2 separate regions of the Homo sapiens genome follow, and region 1 is linked to region 2. Evidence: promoter capture Hi-C in human tissues and cell types (Jung and others, 2019). All regions are on one chromosome and are shown on one strand. Each heading gives the region's core, a stretch centred on a gene start or on the middle of the fragment in contact. The rest is flanking DNA. Distances are from core to core; before and after follow the strand shown. Region 1 holds the start of CBFB (core-binding factor subunit beta). Region 2 overlaps LRRC36 (leucine rich repeat containing 36).

The links. The method cuts DNA at HindIII sites, captures the fragments that hold promoters and counts their contacts. A contact is called where the count stands out against the background at its distance.
Region 1: a contact is called between the fragment with the promoter of CBFB here and a fragment that was not itself captured in region 2, in 4 of the 25 tissues and cell types used here (dorsolateral prefrontal cortex, liver, lymphoblastoid cells and 1 more).

Annotation. Positions count from the first base shown.
Region 1 is chr16:67,027,401-67,030,530 of GRCh38, reverse strand. CBFB (core-binding factor subunit beta) reads right to left here and starts at 1,382. Exons shown (of 6, transcript NM_022845.3): 1 at 1,046-1,382; 2 at 718-804. The coding sequence starts at 1,123. RefSeq lists silencers at 600-649, 900-1,139, 1,230-1,419 and an enhancer at 1,980-2,119. The HindIII fragment of the contact is 10,821 bases long and covers 1-3,130 here.
Region 2 is chr16:67,330,481-67,333,545 of GRCh38, reverse strand. All of the region lies in intron 1 of LRRC36 (leucine rich repeat containing 36), which reads right to left. Among named protein-coding and RNA genes, the nearest start is that of LRRC36, 5.2 kb to the right of the region's middle. The HindIII fragment of the contact is 7,189 bases long and covers 1-3,065 here.

The DNA of each region.
Region 1 (3,130 bases), core at 133-2,632, 300 kb after region 2:
ATGAGAGGAACTAGGACCCTTGGATTTTTTTTTTCAACCCAAGGTCTGGTGAAGACGCACTAAATCTGCCTCCTAAAACAAGGACCTCGAGATCAACCGTGGGTTTTGCCCATCTGTGCAGTTTTTAGGAACAGCAGCCCTACTCAGGACATGGGGATAATGGTTTCTTTCTGATTCTCCTGAAGCTTAACATTCTAAGAAAATGACATTTTTAGGGCCTTTTCCCCCCCCTCCCCTCTCTATTAGAATAAATAACTGGAGGAAAGATTTCTACTCGGCGATCTGGTAGTGAGACCGCTTGACACAGAGAATTACCGACAGATCTACCTTCTAAGAAACAAACTATCGCCGACCTTGAATGAAGCTCCACTTCTTTTTCCGAATGGGGGTTTGCTTGCTACAAATACCCTGAACCCTTCTTCGGTGTCGCCGCCTAAACAATGCCCTTCGCTTGTTTAGTCTGGCTCGGGTTCGAGCTCCACTCGCGGTGCTCCGTTGGCCGACACGCGCCACCGCGGCGAGCCCCAGGAAAAGCGTCTCCCCGCGAGTACCGGCCCGCGGCATCTGGTTTCGCATTTTGAATCCCGAGTAGGAAGTGAGACGGCGCCCACTCAGTTCCGGGAGCCGCAGCAGCCGCGCCGCCGTCCGGAACCGGCCTGGGCCGCCGCGGCCCCGCGCAACAAGTGACCCGCGCGCGCCCCGGGCCAGCCGACTTACGATTTCCGAGCGGCCGTCGCGGCAGGCGTTCTGGAAGCGTGCCTGGCGTTCCTCGTGGGGCCGGTCCCTGAAGCCCGTGTACTTAATCTGCAAGGCAAGACGGCCCGAAATCAGGAGCCAAATCCGCGGCGCCGCCCGCGCGCCCGCCCTCCCAGCGCAGCGCCGATAAGGGCAAGCAGAGGCTGCGGGCGATGGCCGCCCCGGCGAGATTGCCCCTCCGCGGGCGCACCGACCGGGACTCCCGGGGACCGTGCCGCCCAAACTTTTCTCCGCCCGGGCCCACTCGGGGCGCGCTGCGGCCTCCTAGCCGCCCGCCCGCCTGCCTCACCTCACACTCGCGGCTCAGCTTCCTAAAAAACTCCTCGTTCTCGAACTTGCTTCTCTGGTCGGGCACGACGCGCGGCATCTTCCCGCCCTGAGGCCGCGCCGGCCGGCCGCGCTCGGGGCTTGCGCGGGCACCCGCTGGCTGGCTCCGCGCTGACCGACTGACCGCCCACCCGCGGCGCCCGGACGCCCGCTTCCCTTTGTTTCAGGCGCCCGCCCGCGTGGGCTCCCGTTCCGGGGAGTCTGAGGCGCCGCCGCCCGCTCGAGCCCAACCCACGCCGCCGCCGCCGCCGCCGCCGCCTCAGCCGTTGCCTGCCGCCCGCGCAGCCCCAGCGCTCACCGCCCCCGGCCGCCGCCGCCGCCGCCGCCGCCACTTCCTCTCACCGCCCACCCCGCCCCCGCCGGCCCCACCCCTCCTCCTCGCGCGCCCGCCCGCCTCCAACTCCGGCAAACAAGACGCACCATTCACAACTCCGCGGCCCACGCCGCGCATGCGCCACCCGCCCGCTGGCGGAGCGGCCTGGCTGTGGCGCCCCGGGGCTCCTTCCGCATCAGGGCCCTTTTCCCCCTGCTCGCCCGCGGCCACTCGGCGTGGAGCTGTCGTTGGGGGATCCGCCTGGCCTTTAGCAGACGGGAGTAGCCAGCGCAGGCCTTTTCTACCGCCCTTCCTCGGTCATCTGGAACTTCTGGGTTCCCCAGGTGCGCGGAGTAACCCCAGATTGTCACTTGAACGCGAGGAAACCTAAGTCCTTGGGGACTTTTCGTCCCTAAACCGACCGGCAGGGGTGTAGGCTCTGCACGTTGAAGACTGAGGTGGAAACGGACCAAAGAATCCAACCGAGTCATGGTGGAAAGGTCGTGGCTTTTGGAGTCAGATGGGTCTTAGATGGGATCCCACTCAGCTACACTACCTGCTGGCTGGGGCCTTAGATAAGAATTGGACCACTAAACCTCAGTTTCCTTATTTCCAAAATGCAGACACTCCTAGGTTTGCAGTGTTAGCGTGAGAACCTTTATGTGGGTCTAGCACACAGTGGGAGCCCAATAAATTTAAGTTTCTAAAGAAGAACAAGCTGAGTTAAGAATGTAACCGATTGCCAGTCCATATACTTACTCAATGTGCAATCAGCTGCAAAAAATAAGATCCATAAATTCTAGGGAAGTTGTTTAGCCCAAACTGGAGAAAGTCTGACATGGGATTTATGGCAGAGTTTGATTCAAAGTTAGTCCTGTGGCCGGGCACTGTAGCTCATACCCGTAATCCCAGCCCTCTTTTTTTTTTTTTTTTTTTTTTTTTTTTAAACAGAGCCTCGCTCTGTCGCCCAGGCTGGAGTGCAATGGCGCGATCTCGGCTCACTGCAACCTCCGCCTCCTGGGTTCAAGTGATTCTTCTGCCTCTGTCTCCCGAGTATTTGGAATTACAGGCACCCACCACCACGCCCAGCTAATTTTTTTGTATTTTTAGTAGAGACGGGGTTTCGCCATGTTGGTCAGGCTGGTCTCGAACTCCTGACCTCAGGTGATCTGCCCGCCTCGGCCTCCCAAAGTACTGGGATTACAGGCATGAGCCACTGCGCCTGGCCTAATCCCAGCACTTTGGGAGGCCGAGGCAGGCTGATCACCTGAGATCAGGAGCTCGAGGCCGGTCTGGTCAACATGGCAAAACCCCATCTCTACTAAAGTACAAAAATTAGCGGGGTGTGGTGGCACACGCCTGTAGTCTCAGCTACTCGGGAGGCTGAGGCAGGAGAATCGCTTGAACCTGGGAGGCGGAGGTTGTAGTGAGCCAAGACGGTGCCACTGCACTGCAGCCTGGGCCACAGAGCAAGACTCCGTCTCAAACAGCTACTCGGAAGCTGAGGCAGGAGAATTGGTTGAACCTGGGAGGCAGAGGTTGCGGTGAGCCAAGATCGTGCCATTGCACCCCAGCCTGGGGAACAAGAGCATAACTCCGTCTCGGGGGGAAAAAAAATCCATGAGGAAGCACTCTTGCTCCACAATGGGTCCAAGGAGGGCTCACAGACCTCCAAGTTGATCTTGGCCAAAGACTCTAGCAATAATTGTTTCTGCCATGGGAAATGTGGAATAA
Region 2 (3,065 bases), core at 451-2,950:
GTGACTGCCTAATGGGTTGATGAAAATGTTCTGGAACTATATATAGGTAGCAATGATGCTTGCACAACATTGTAAATGTACAAAATGACCCTGAATTGTATATTTTTTAAATGGGGCTACGTGTGGTGGCTCATGCCTGTAATTTCAGCACTTTGGGAGGCGGAGGCAGGTGGATCACTTGAAGTCAGGAGTTCAAGACCAGCCTGGCCAACATGGTGAAACCCTGTCTCTACTAAAAACACAAAAATTAGCAGGGTATGGTGGGACGTGCCTGCAGTCCCACCTACTCAGGATGCTGAGGCAGGAGAATCACTTGAACCTGGGATAGAGGTTGCAGTGAGCTGAGGTCGGGCCACTGCACTGCAGCCTGGGCAATAGGGCAAGATTCTTATCTCAAAATAAATAAATAAATACTAAAACGGTGAACTTTATAGTATGTGAATTATATCTTTTTAAAATGCACCCATCTCTACAAAAAAAGAAAAAATTAGCTGGGCATGGTGGTGCACACCTGTAGTCCCAGCTACTCAGTAGGCAGAGTCAGGAGGATTGCTTGAGCCCAGGAGGTCGGGACTGCAGTGAGCCATGATCATGCCACTGCACTCCAGCTTGGGCAACAGAATAAGACCATGTTTTTTTTAAAAAAAAATAAATAAATAAAATAAATAAATAAATAAAATTTTCCTGACTTTGAGGGCAGTGTATTGGTAATTCTGTGGTATGTTATGATCTAACACCCTGAGAGTCTGTTAACATGGGACAAAAGCTAAGGACAATTATGGTTTCCATCAATGACCCACAGCATTTCTCATGCCTTTCACTGCAGTCTATTTTGAAGAGCAGACATTTTAACATTTTAAGAAGGAATGTGAATTATTAAAATGATAAACTGCCACAAAGACAAACATTCTTTAATGATTCACATGAATGCATGTCTTAAGAGGTTATGCATTTCGTTTCAGTGTTTATTTATTTATTTATTATTTTTTTTTGAGACGGAGTCTCGCTCTGTCACCCAGGCTGGAGTGCAATGGCACCATCTTGGCACACTGCAAGCTCTGCCTCCCAGGTTCACGCCATTCTCCTGTCTCAGCCTCCCAAGTAGCTAGGACTACAGGCGCCCACCACCATGCCCAGCTAATTTTTTTGTATTTTTAGTAGAGACAGGGTTTCATCATGTTAGCCAGGGTTGTCTCGATCTCCTGACCTCGTGATTCGCCCTCCTCAGCCTCCCAAAGTGCTGGGATTACAGGCGTAAGCCACCGCGCCTGGCCGTTTCAGTGTTTATAAAGAGTGAAGACAAATCAGAGAACAAATCAAACACTGCACAGCATAGATGCCAAGAATAAAAGAATGATCTTCCAATTTTAATATATGGGTTACATAACCCCAGTGGGCAAAAATTTGCTATTTGAAAATAACAAATCAAGTAGTCTCTCTAATGAAAACCATTTACAGCTCATTTGGAAATTGAATTAACAACCTTTAACAAAGCTTATTTATAATGACAATGAATGTTTCTAATAAATAAAACTTTTTCTTTTTCTTTTTTTTTTTGAGATGGAGTTTCGCTCTCTTTGCCCAGGCTGGAGTGCAATGGTGTGATCTTGGCTTACTGCAACCTCCGCCTTCAGGGTTCAAGCGATTCTCCTGCCTCAGCCTCCCAAGTAGCTGGGATTACAGGCATGTGCCACCCCGCCCAGCTAATTTTTATATTTTTAGTAGAGATGGGGTTTCAACATGCTGGCCAGGCTGGTCTCAAACTCCCAACCTCAGGTGATCCACCCCCCTCGGCTTCCCAAAGTGCTGGGATTACAGGCGTGAGCCACTACACCTGGCCATAAAACTTTTTTAAAAAGACCTCAGGAGTCAACTTGAAAGATCACCTATTAACTAAAGTTAGGATAAACTGAACATCAATTATGATAAGAACTATAATGGATTAAAACTTACATTGAAATATATTGCTATGGTTTGAACGTCCCCTCCAAAACTCATGATGAAATGTATTAATTTATTCAGAGATAGGGCCTTGCTCTGTCAACTAGGCTGGAGGGCAGTAGCACTATCATAGTGCACTGCAGCCTAAAACTCCTGGGGTCAGAGGATCCTTCCACTTCAGCCTCCTGAGTAGCTGGGACTACAGGTACACACCACCAACACCCAGTTAATTTTTAAATTTTTTGTAGAGACAGGATCTTGCTGTGTTGCCCAGGCTGGTCTCAAATACCTGGCCTCATCCTCCTCCCTGGCCTTCCAAAGTGTGTAAGCCGCCATGCCCAGCTTTCATGTTGAAACGTAATTGCCAATGTAACAGCACTGCGAGGTGGGGCCTCTAAGAGGTGATTAGGTCAACGGTGGCTTCATGCTGTTATCATGGAGTTAGTTATCACGGGAGTTAGCTATCCTAATAAAGGAATTAGTTCAGTCTTCTCTCTCTCTCTCTCTCTCTCTCTCTCTCTCTCTCTCTCTCTCTTTCTCTCTCACATCTCACACATGCACCTTCTGCCCTTCCACCATGGAATGACCCTCACCAGATGTTGGCACCATGCTCTTGGACTTCTCAGCCTCCAGAACCATGAGCCAAATCAACTTCTGTTCTTTATAAATTACCTAGTCTATGGTATTCTGTTATGACAAGAGAAAAGGGACTAAGACATTTATTTATTTATTTATTTATTTAGACTGAGTCTCAGTCTTTCGTCCAGGCTGAAGTGCAGTGGTGCGATCTCAGTTCACTGCAACCTCTGCTTCCCAGGCTCAAGTGATTCTCCTGCCTCAGCCTCCTGAGTAGCTGGGATTATAGGCACCTGCCACCATGCCGGGCTAATTTTTTTTGTATTTTTAGTACAGATGAGGTTTCACCATGTTGGACAGACTGGTCTTGAACTCCTGACCTCAGGTGATCCATCCTCCTTGGCCTCCCAAAATGCTGGGATTACAGGCGTGAACGACCATGCCCAGCCCTAAGACATATATTTAAATCGATGAGTTTATAATGATACTGAGAAAGCAAAACAGTCCTCACTGGTCACCTTTGGAGAATGCTAAGAAAATAACTCATC